Linked DNA regions of Homo sapiens: region 2 is linked to region 1. Evidence: promoter capture Hi-C in 16 types of primary human blood cells and fetal thymus (Javierre and others, 2016). All regions are on one chromosome and are shown on one strand. Each heading gives the region's core, a stretch centred on a gene start or on the middle of the fragment in contact. The rest is flanking DNA. Distances are from core to core; before and after follow the strand shown. Region 1 holds the start of KRIT1 (KRIT1 ankyrin repeat containing). Region 2 overlaps GTPBP10 (GTP binding protein 10).

Region 1 (3,858 bases), core at 706-3,205:
CCATCTTTCTTAATGAAATGACAATGTTTTTCAGCAACACAAAACACCAAAGCTACCAGTCTACACTACACAGTAGTTTGCAGAATGACAACCTGCAGTACACAGTAAAATTATTCTTAAATTATCGTTTGCTTCCTATGGTGCTCTGAAAAGTAGCAAATGCATAAAGTCATATAAGAGCTATTGTCCAATCACTGACAGCATTAAAATTATTTTTAAATCTAATTTCTGGAAAGTTCTGCAGGAGCAGTTTGAAAAGCAAATCAAATTCTAATGAGAAAAAACGCCTAGTTCAAAAATCTGAAAATATACTTTGAAGACATTCACAGTTTAAGCAGCAGGAGGGTCATAGGCACCAAGGTGTGTAACATCTGTGAGTGGCTGATACAAAAAAAGATTTCTCTGGAATTAATGATTGAAAATAATTATCAAATACAATCTAATATGATCTTTAAACGTCTGTCTCAAAAGCAACAAAGCAAAAGCTTGTAACAAAGCAAAACCTTCCAATACACAGATTTTTACACCTTACACATACCCACATACTTCACAAATTAAGAACTAGATGAAAATTAGAACACTAAAATTTAAAGGTATCTAAAATACACTATTTGAAACAGCAGACTCTTATCTTTACATTTATCTGTCAGATCTACCAGTAAAGCTCTTCTGAAATGGTCATTCCAATACAAGATTGTTCGATATGCCATTCCGTGTGAATAGAGCTTGGGAGACTAATTCTCAAAATCTCCTCAGGAGATGCTTTATTACAGCTCTAGTTTCAATTTCCTGCGACTCAAACAGCTACGTACAGAAAAACAGCTCATACATACGGAGAAGAATAAGAATACAGGGGAGCGCTCCATTCTTTTGTTTTGGTGGCAGAAGCTGCAAAAATAAAGGTTCACTGGAGCCATCTGCACCTATCCCCACCCATCACAGCCCTGCAGAGCACTTTTACCCATCCGCTTCTCAAGACTCTCTCTAGCCCCCGAGGTCGGCAGAACCCGTGGCTTTCCACGTCTCAAAGGATGGGGGTGGGGGGGAGGCTGCGAGGAAGGACACAGATCCTTTGAGGACAGAGGGACAAGGAGATGCATCCAGATGGGGAGGATGGGACGCGTCACGGAGACCCGGAGGCTTGCAAATTCGCTGGGAGAAAAGCCCTGTAGGGCAGAGAATGCTGCCTGTTCAGGGATGGGGACAGACAGAACAACAATGCTCCAAAACAGGCGACAGACACACTCCTAGTAGATCCGGGAGGGTGTGAAGTAGGTAGCTCTGAACTCGGAGCCACAAATGGGTAGAGGCAGCCTCAAACACATCTGTACCGCGAAGCTGAGACTTACGGTTACTTCTCTCGCTGAGGGTAAGGGTCGGTGGACCCAGCAACTCCGCAGTTCCGCCTCCGCCGCCCCTGCCTCTACAGCCGAGCTGGTGACCTCAGGTACCCAGCCCGCCCCACCCACCCGGACGGTTGCCCCTTCCTCGCCGGCCCGGGTGCACCCGCCAGGCGGAGGCTGATGTGGCCGAGGGTGCGCACTGGCGGCCCGCGGGAAGCGCTGCGTGAGCCGAAGGCGCCCGCGGCGAGGCTCAGACTGGGTGGGCGCCCCCCATCCCTCTCCGGCCGCTGCGCCGCCTCACTCGGGGGAGGGGAAGAGGGGGCGGTGGCTCTTGCCTCCGCCTCGCGGTCAAGCCCGGCTCATGTTCCAGCCTTGCGCGCTCGCAGCCCCGGCCGCCCTCTTCCCCTCCCCCGCCTCCGGCTCCGGCTCCGGCTCAGCCGCTGGCACCCCCACCGCCACCACCCTAGTCTCCTAGTCGCCTGCCACCAGCCCCTGAGAGACTGCAGGTCCAGTGAAAAGGAGCAGGAACGGCAGCAGCCCGGCCGCCGACCCGGAAGCTCTTTCACCGCCAACCGCGAGGCTGCAAAGGGTGTGAACCCGGAAGCGATTTCATAGCCACGGTAACGGCGGGGTGGAAAGCTAAGGCCTTTGAAGACCTGGGACCCCGTAGTTTCGGGAGAGGGTGAGGGGTGAATGGTGCTGAGGTGCGAGGAGAGGGAAGGACAGTAAAGAGCAGGTGGGCAGGAGGGTCTCCGACTCCAGAGACCTGAGCTTTTGGGGCGCGGGTGGGAGCGCGGGGGAACCCTCAAGACGGCTTTCTTTTGGCGACTGAGGGTTTTTCTGCCACAGGAAGCTGGGCCGGGCTGCTGTGCCTGGGAGGAGGGAAGGAGGAATGAGAAAGCGGTGACGGTCCCTGCCCCCCCTCGCCAGGTGACTGTCCCACCCATTTAGTTGAATGTAGCGGCCAGAGAGGCACTCGCGGCAGCCCGTACGGGTGGGACCTCTCGGTGTCCTTCGGGAAACAGGAGGAGCAAGTTCGACTCCAGCGAGGGAAAACGGAGGTGGGAGACTGAACCATCTCCACATCTAGTTGCCCCAGGCAAGGAGTTTATTTTTCACATGTAGTTACAGAGAAACCATAGCCACTTTTTGGGTGGAAACTCTTTGAGCAAAGAGGCTTACGTTTTTCCCCAGTAGTGGACGTTGACGGGTGGTGGCGCAGGAAAAAACCTCCCAGGCAGAGTGATTACGTATTTTTGTCATTGCAGGGAAAGGGATTCACAGCTTGTCATTCTAACTCACTTCTCCCCCTGTAACTCACTTCTCGCCTCTACACTTTTCTCCACCTTTTAAGGTTTTTGGCTTTCATCGCTTTTTCTACATGTTTTTAGCCTCACCAGAAGTCTTTCATCTCGGTGGTCCAACTCAGGATCTCAGCCTCATTATTTTCTTACCCTTCTGGAGTGCATATGTGCCTTTACAGTTTCTGTTTGCAAACGCTGTCTAGCATACTAAGAGGATGTTAGCAAACCTGTTCCATGGACACTAAATGGCAGTTGTACATCTCCCCTCATCAGTCATAGTGACAACCAGAAATGCCCTCCATATTTTCCAGTGATCCCAGGTAGGTGCCACCCCCCTAATTAAGGACCACTTCCACTGCTTTATTTATAAGATCTTATTACTTAGGGAGCATATTATCATTTGTGCCTAACATTTTCCAGAATGGAGTGAGCCATATAACAAAATGCCACGTTTCCTGTACTTATTCACTTGAACCCTCATCTCAGACTCAGTCTAAACATATTGCAAACTCTAGTTATACCTTTCTTGTATTTTAGTTCAAGCTACTCATTTTCTATCAGTTTGTCTGTGTTTCTCCCTTAGCAGTTTTACCTTCCTATGTTAGTTACTTTTGTTATTTTCCTGTTAAGCCTTTGTTTCCTTCTTTCATGTCACTGGAAGAATGTAGATTTTAAGTAGTCAAGTACGAATAGTTCTTGAAAATGAATTTTAAGAATATTTTGGGGATATGGTAAAAAAGTATTTGGTTTAAGAAAACAAAATACTGTTACTGTCATAGTTATGTCTTTTTAAAATCACATTTGTTTACCTTTTAAAAGTTCAGGCTTCTGTGCAGTATTAATTAAATATTCTAGAGAAGTGATGAGTATTGACAAAGTACTTTGCTAGTAAATGTTTTCTTAACATGAGTTGACCAAGACAGGAATTGATTTGCTTTAAATTGTCTTTAGAAAAGTAAGAGTTACTTGATTTTTCTTTTAGGTCCTTAATAGATAAAATGGTTTCTGTAATTGTGCCCATATATCATACAGTGTATTCACAATACAATGTCTTTCTTTTTGGGGCTTGCAGTCTTCAATGCGTCTGTCTCATAATTTGTAAACGTTTATTATCTTGAAGTCATTGTTAATCTGTGGTGAAAAGTAATTGCTAAATAGAAATTCTGAGAAGAAAAAGGCCTCATCCTTTTCACATGATGTAGGAAGGTCTG
Region 2 (3,858 bases), core at 659-3,158, 1.9 Mb after region 1:
CTTACAGATCTTACATGGCAGCATTTGCAGTCAAGAGAAATGTAAGCAAATGTAAAAATGCAGTATTAAATCATAACTGCATAAAATTAACTGTAGTACATCGTGGAATACTGTAATAATTTCGTAGTTACCTCCTGTAACTATCCCGGGATCTCAAGTGTCCCAAGTTGCCACTTAAAAGGCCATGTGATGCTAATCGTCTCCCCATGAGCAGTTCATCTTGCCAGTACATTTTATAAGTCAGTAAAAAGTAATCTCTCACAGTTCTCTTGCATTTTTCATCATGTTCAGCGCTACACTGTAAACCTTGAACACCACCATGGAACCCATACAAAGTGCCACTAGTGATGCTGGCAGTGCTCCCAAGAAGTAAAGTCATGACACTACGATAAAAAGATGAATTGCTTGATATCTACCACAGATTAAAATCTGTAGCTGCGATGGCCTGCTATCTCAAGATAAATGAATCCAGAATAAGAATCAGTGTAAAAAAAGACAAAAATTCATGAAGCCACTGCAGCAGCTATGCCAAAAGGTGTGAAAACCTTGCACTTTTTGTGAATTAACTTTTTATCTTGTATTAAAAAGGCAACTTTTATGTAGATGCAGGATTCCTATTTTAAAAACATAGACTAATACAATAAAAGAAAAAGTAAGGTTACCATATGACAACTTAAAAGCAAAAGGAATGTGAAGGATCTAAAGCTAAAGAATTAATTGCCAGCAAAGGATGATTTGATAATTTTAGAAGGAGGTTTGACTGTGGAAGACAGTTCTAGATTCCTCAAGAATCTAGAACTAGAAATACCATTTGACCCAGCCATCCCATTACTGGATATATACCCAAAGGATTAAAAATCATGCCACTATAAAGACACATGCACACGTATGTTTATTGTGGCACTATTCACAACAGCAAAGACTTGGAACCAACCCAAATGTCCATCAATGATAGACTGGATTAAGAAAATGTGGCACATATACACGATGGAATACTATGCAGCCATAAAAAGGATGAGTGACATGGATGCAGCTGGAAACCATCATTCTGACCAAACTATCACAAGGACAGAAAACCAAACACCACATGTTCTCACTCATAGGTGGGAACTGAACAATGAGAACACTTGGGACACGGGGGGAACATCACACACTGGGACCTGTCATGGGGTTGGGGGCTGGGTGAGAGATAACATTAGGAGAAATACCCAATGTAAATGACAAGTTAATGGGTGCAGCAAACCAACATGGCACATGTATACCTATGTAACAAACCTGCACGCTGTGTACATGTACCCTAGAACTTAAAGTATAATTTAAAAAAAAAAAAGAAGAAATAGGTTTGGCTTTGGCTTTAGAAATATCAAGATAACAGGTGAAGCAGGTTCTGCCAACTAAGAGGCAGCAGATGAGTTCCCAGATGCCATTAAGAAAATCACTGAGACGAAAGAATATCTCCCAAATCAGGTTGTTAATGCTGATGAAAGTACCCTATTCTGGAAAACATGCTACAAAAGACATTAGTAAGGAAGAGAAGGGAGCACCAGGATTTAAGCCAGGAAGGGATAGGCTAACCCTACTGTATTGTGCAAATGCAGTTGTGTTTGTAATCAGGACTGTCCTTATCTATAAAGCTGCTAACCCCTCAATCTTGAAAGGGAAAGATAAACATCAGCTGCCAGTCTTTGTTGGATAAGAAGGCCTAGAGAACAAAAACCTTTTCTCTGGATTGGTTCCATGGATGCTTTCTCCCTGAAGTCAGGAAGTACCTTCCCAATACGAGACTGACTTGTAAAGTTCCTCTGCTAATGGACAGTGCCCCACCTCCCCGCTACCCAGAACCCCATGAGTTCAACATCAAAGGCACTGAAGTGGTGTCCTTGCCCCCAAACACAATGTCTGTAAATCAGCCTCTAGATCACGGGGTCGCAAGGACCTTTAAGGCTCATTAAACATGATTTTCTACGAAAAGGATTGTCAACCATGGAAAAGAACACTAATAGAGAAAACTTCAGGAAAATCTGAAGTTTACATAATTGAAGATGCCATTATTATTGAAAAAGCCATGAAAGCCATAAGCCCCAAACAGTAAGTTCGTGCTGGAGAAAACTTTGTCCAGGTGTTGTGTTGTGTTATAATTTCACAGGATTTACAAAAGAGCCAATCAAGGAAATCATGAAAGAGGCTGTGAATATGCCAAAAACGGCGGGAAAGTGGGTAAAGGACTTCAAGATATGGATCTTGAAGAAACTCAAGAGCTAACAGCCACCAAACCAGAGGAATTAACAGAAGACAGCTTGATGAGTGCTTCAGATCCAGTGCCAGATAACAAGGAAGAAAACACAGAATAAACTACCAGAAAAACGAACATTAGATAATCTGGCAGAAGAGCTCCTATTGTTCAGGACTGCTTTTGACTTCTTTTATGACATGGACCCTTCTGTGAAGAGGCACTGAAACCAAAGCAAATGGTGGAAGAGGTATTGGTACCCTATAGAAACATTTTTTTGGGGGAAAGAGAAAAGCAAAAGCATGACAGAAATTATGATGTACTTCCATAAAGTTACACATAGTGTGTCTGCCTCTCTTGCCTCCCCTTCCACCTCCTCCACCCCCACCCCTTCTGCCTCTGCCACCCAAGAGAGCAAGACCAACTCCTCCTCTTCCTCCTCAGTCTATTCAACATGAAGACTATAAGGATGAAGACCTTTACAATTCACTTCCATTTAATGAACAGTAAATATATTTTCCCTTCTTTCTGACTTTCTTAGTAACTGTTTCTTTTCTCTAGCTTAATTTAAGAATACAGTATATACTATATATATATTTTATATGTGTCAACTGACGGCTTATGTTATCAGTGAGGCTTCCAGCCAACAGATTATTAGTAGTTGTTTTGTGGGGGGAGTTGAAAGTTACATGAAGATTTTCAGCTGTGGCGGGGGCATCTCTAACCCCCATGTTCTTGAAGGGTCAACTGTATATCCAAAGCTACTAAAATACCCTTCTGGTATCTTTTATTTTCTTTTTTTTGAAACAGGGTCTGGTTCTGGTGCCTGGGCTCGAGTGCCGTGGCACTATCATAGCACTATCATTGCTGCAGCCTCAAACTCCTGGGCTCAAGCAATTCTCCCACTTCAGCCTCCCAAATGGCTGGGACTACAGGCACCACACCACCCCGACTGTTTTAAAGATGGGGTCTTGCTATGTTGCCCAGACTGGTCTTGAACTCCTGGCCTTAAGGGATCCTCCCACCTCAGCCTCCCAAGTAGCAAGAACAATAGGCTCACCTACCATGCCTAGTTCCTTCCTGTATCCTTTTCACTTGCTCAACCCTTCCTCTCTTCCTCTTTGCTCTGTACTACATGAAATACCGCCATTTCTACATGCCATTCTGCTCATGCTTTTCCTCTACTTAGAATGTCATTTGTTTTTCCTATCATAAATCCACCTAAACGTCATATTTTCTAACGTCTTTCCAAATTCCTCTAATCAATTCTCTGACTTTGCTGGCTCTCCCAGCAATTTGATTATATCTCTATTATTACACCTTTATAAATCTCACGCTGCATTTAGTGTTTACCTGTTTCCTTCACTAAATCAAGAACTTCTTGTAGGTAAAGGACTTACGTATTAACCTCTTAGGCTATTAAAATCAAAATAACTTAAGGAGTAATTTCTTAAATTCATAATCCACATCTCTAGTCATTTAGGATAGCTATTATAAAAAACAAATGGGATTTTTTTTTCAAGAAAGTTGAAATATTGACCATTCTGATATACTCGAGGAGAGTTTCTACAGTTCCATTAAATATGTAACACTTTTTTCCTGCTCTAGATTAATCAGATTCAGGGGTT

What was found. Contacts are between HindIII fragments. The CHiCAGO score rates a contact against its expected background, and 5 or more counts as called.
Region 2: a contact is called between a fragment that was not itself captured here and the fragment with the promoter of KRIT1 in region 1, in 1 of 17 cell types (fetal thymus). The highest score is 6.6, in fetal thymus.

What each region holds. Positions count from the first base shown.
Region 1 is chr7:92,244,011-92,247,868 of GRCh38, reverse strand. KRIT1 (KRIT1 ankyrin repeat containing) reads left to right here and starts at 1,955. Exons shown (of 19, transcript NM_194454.3): 1 at 1,955-2,079; 2 at 2,698-2,967; 3 at 3,720-3,858. It overlaps ANKIB1 (ankyrin repeat and IBR domain containing 1), which reads right to left and starts at 1,895. Exons shown (of 20, transcript NM_019004.2): 1 at 1,350-1,895. RefSeq lists a silencer at 1,460-1,849 and an enhancer at 1,780-2,074. The HindIII fragment of the contact is 4,029 bases long and covers 488-3,858 here.
Region 2 is chr7:90,347,393-90,351,250 of GRCh38, reverse strand. All of the region lies in intron 1 of GTPBP10 (GTP binding protein 10), which reads right to left. The region is part of intron 1 of LOC107986715 (a long non-coding RNA gene); the gene reads left to right. Among named protein-coding and RNA genes, the nearest start is that of GTPBP10, 2.6 kb to the right of the region's middle. The HindIII fragment of the contact is 6,192 bases long and covers 1-3,858 here.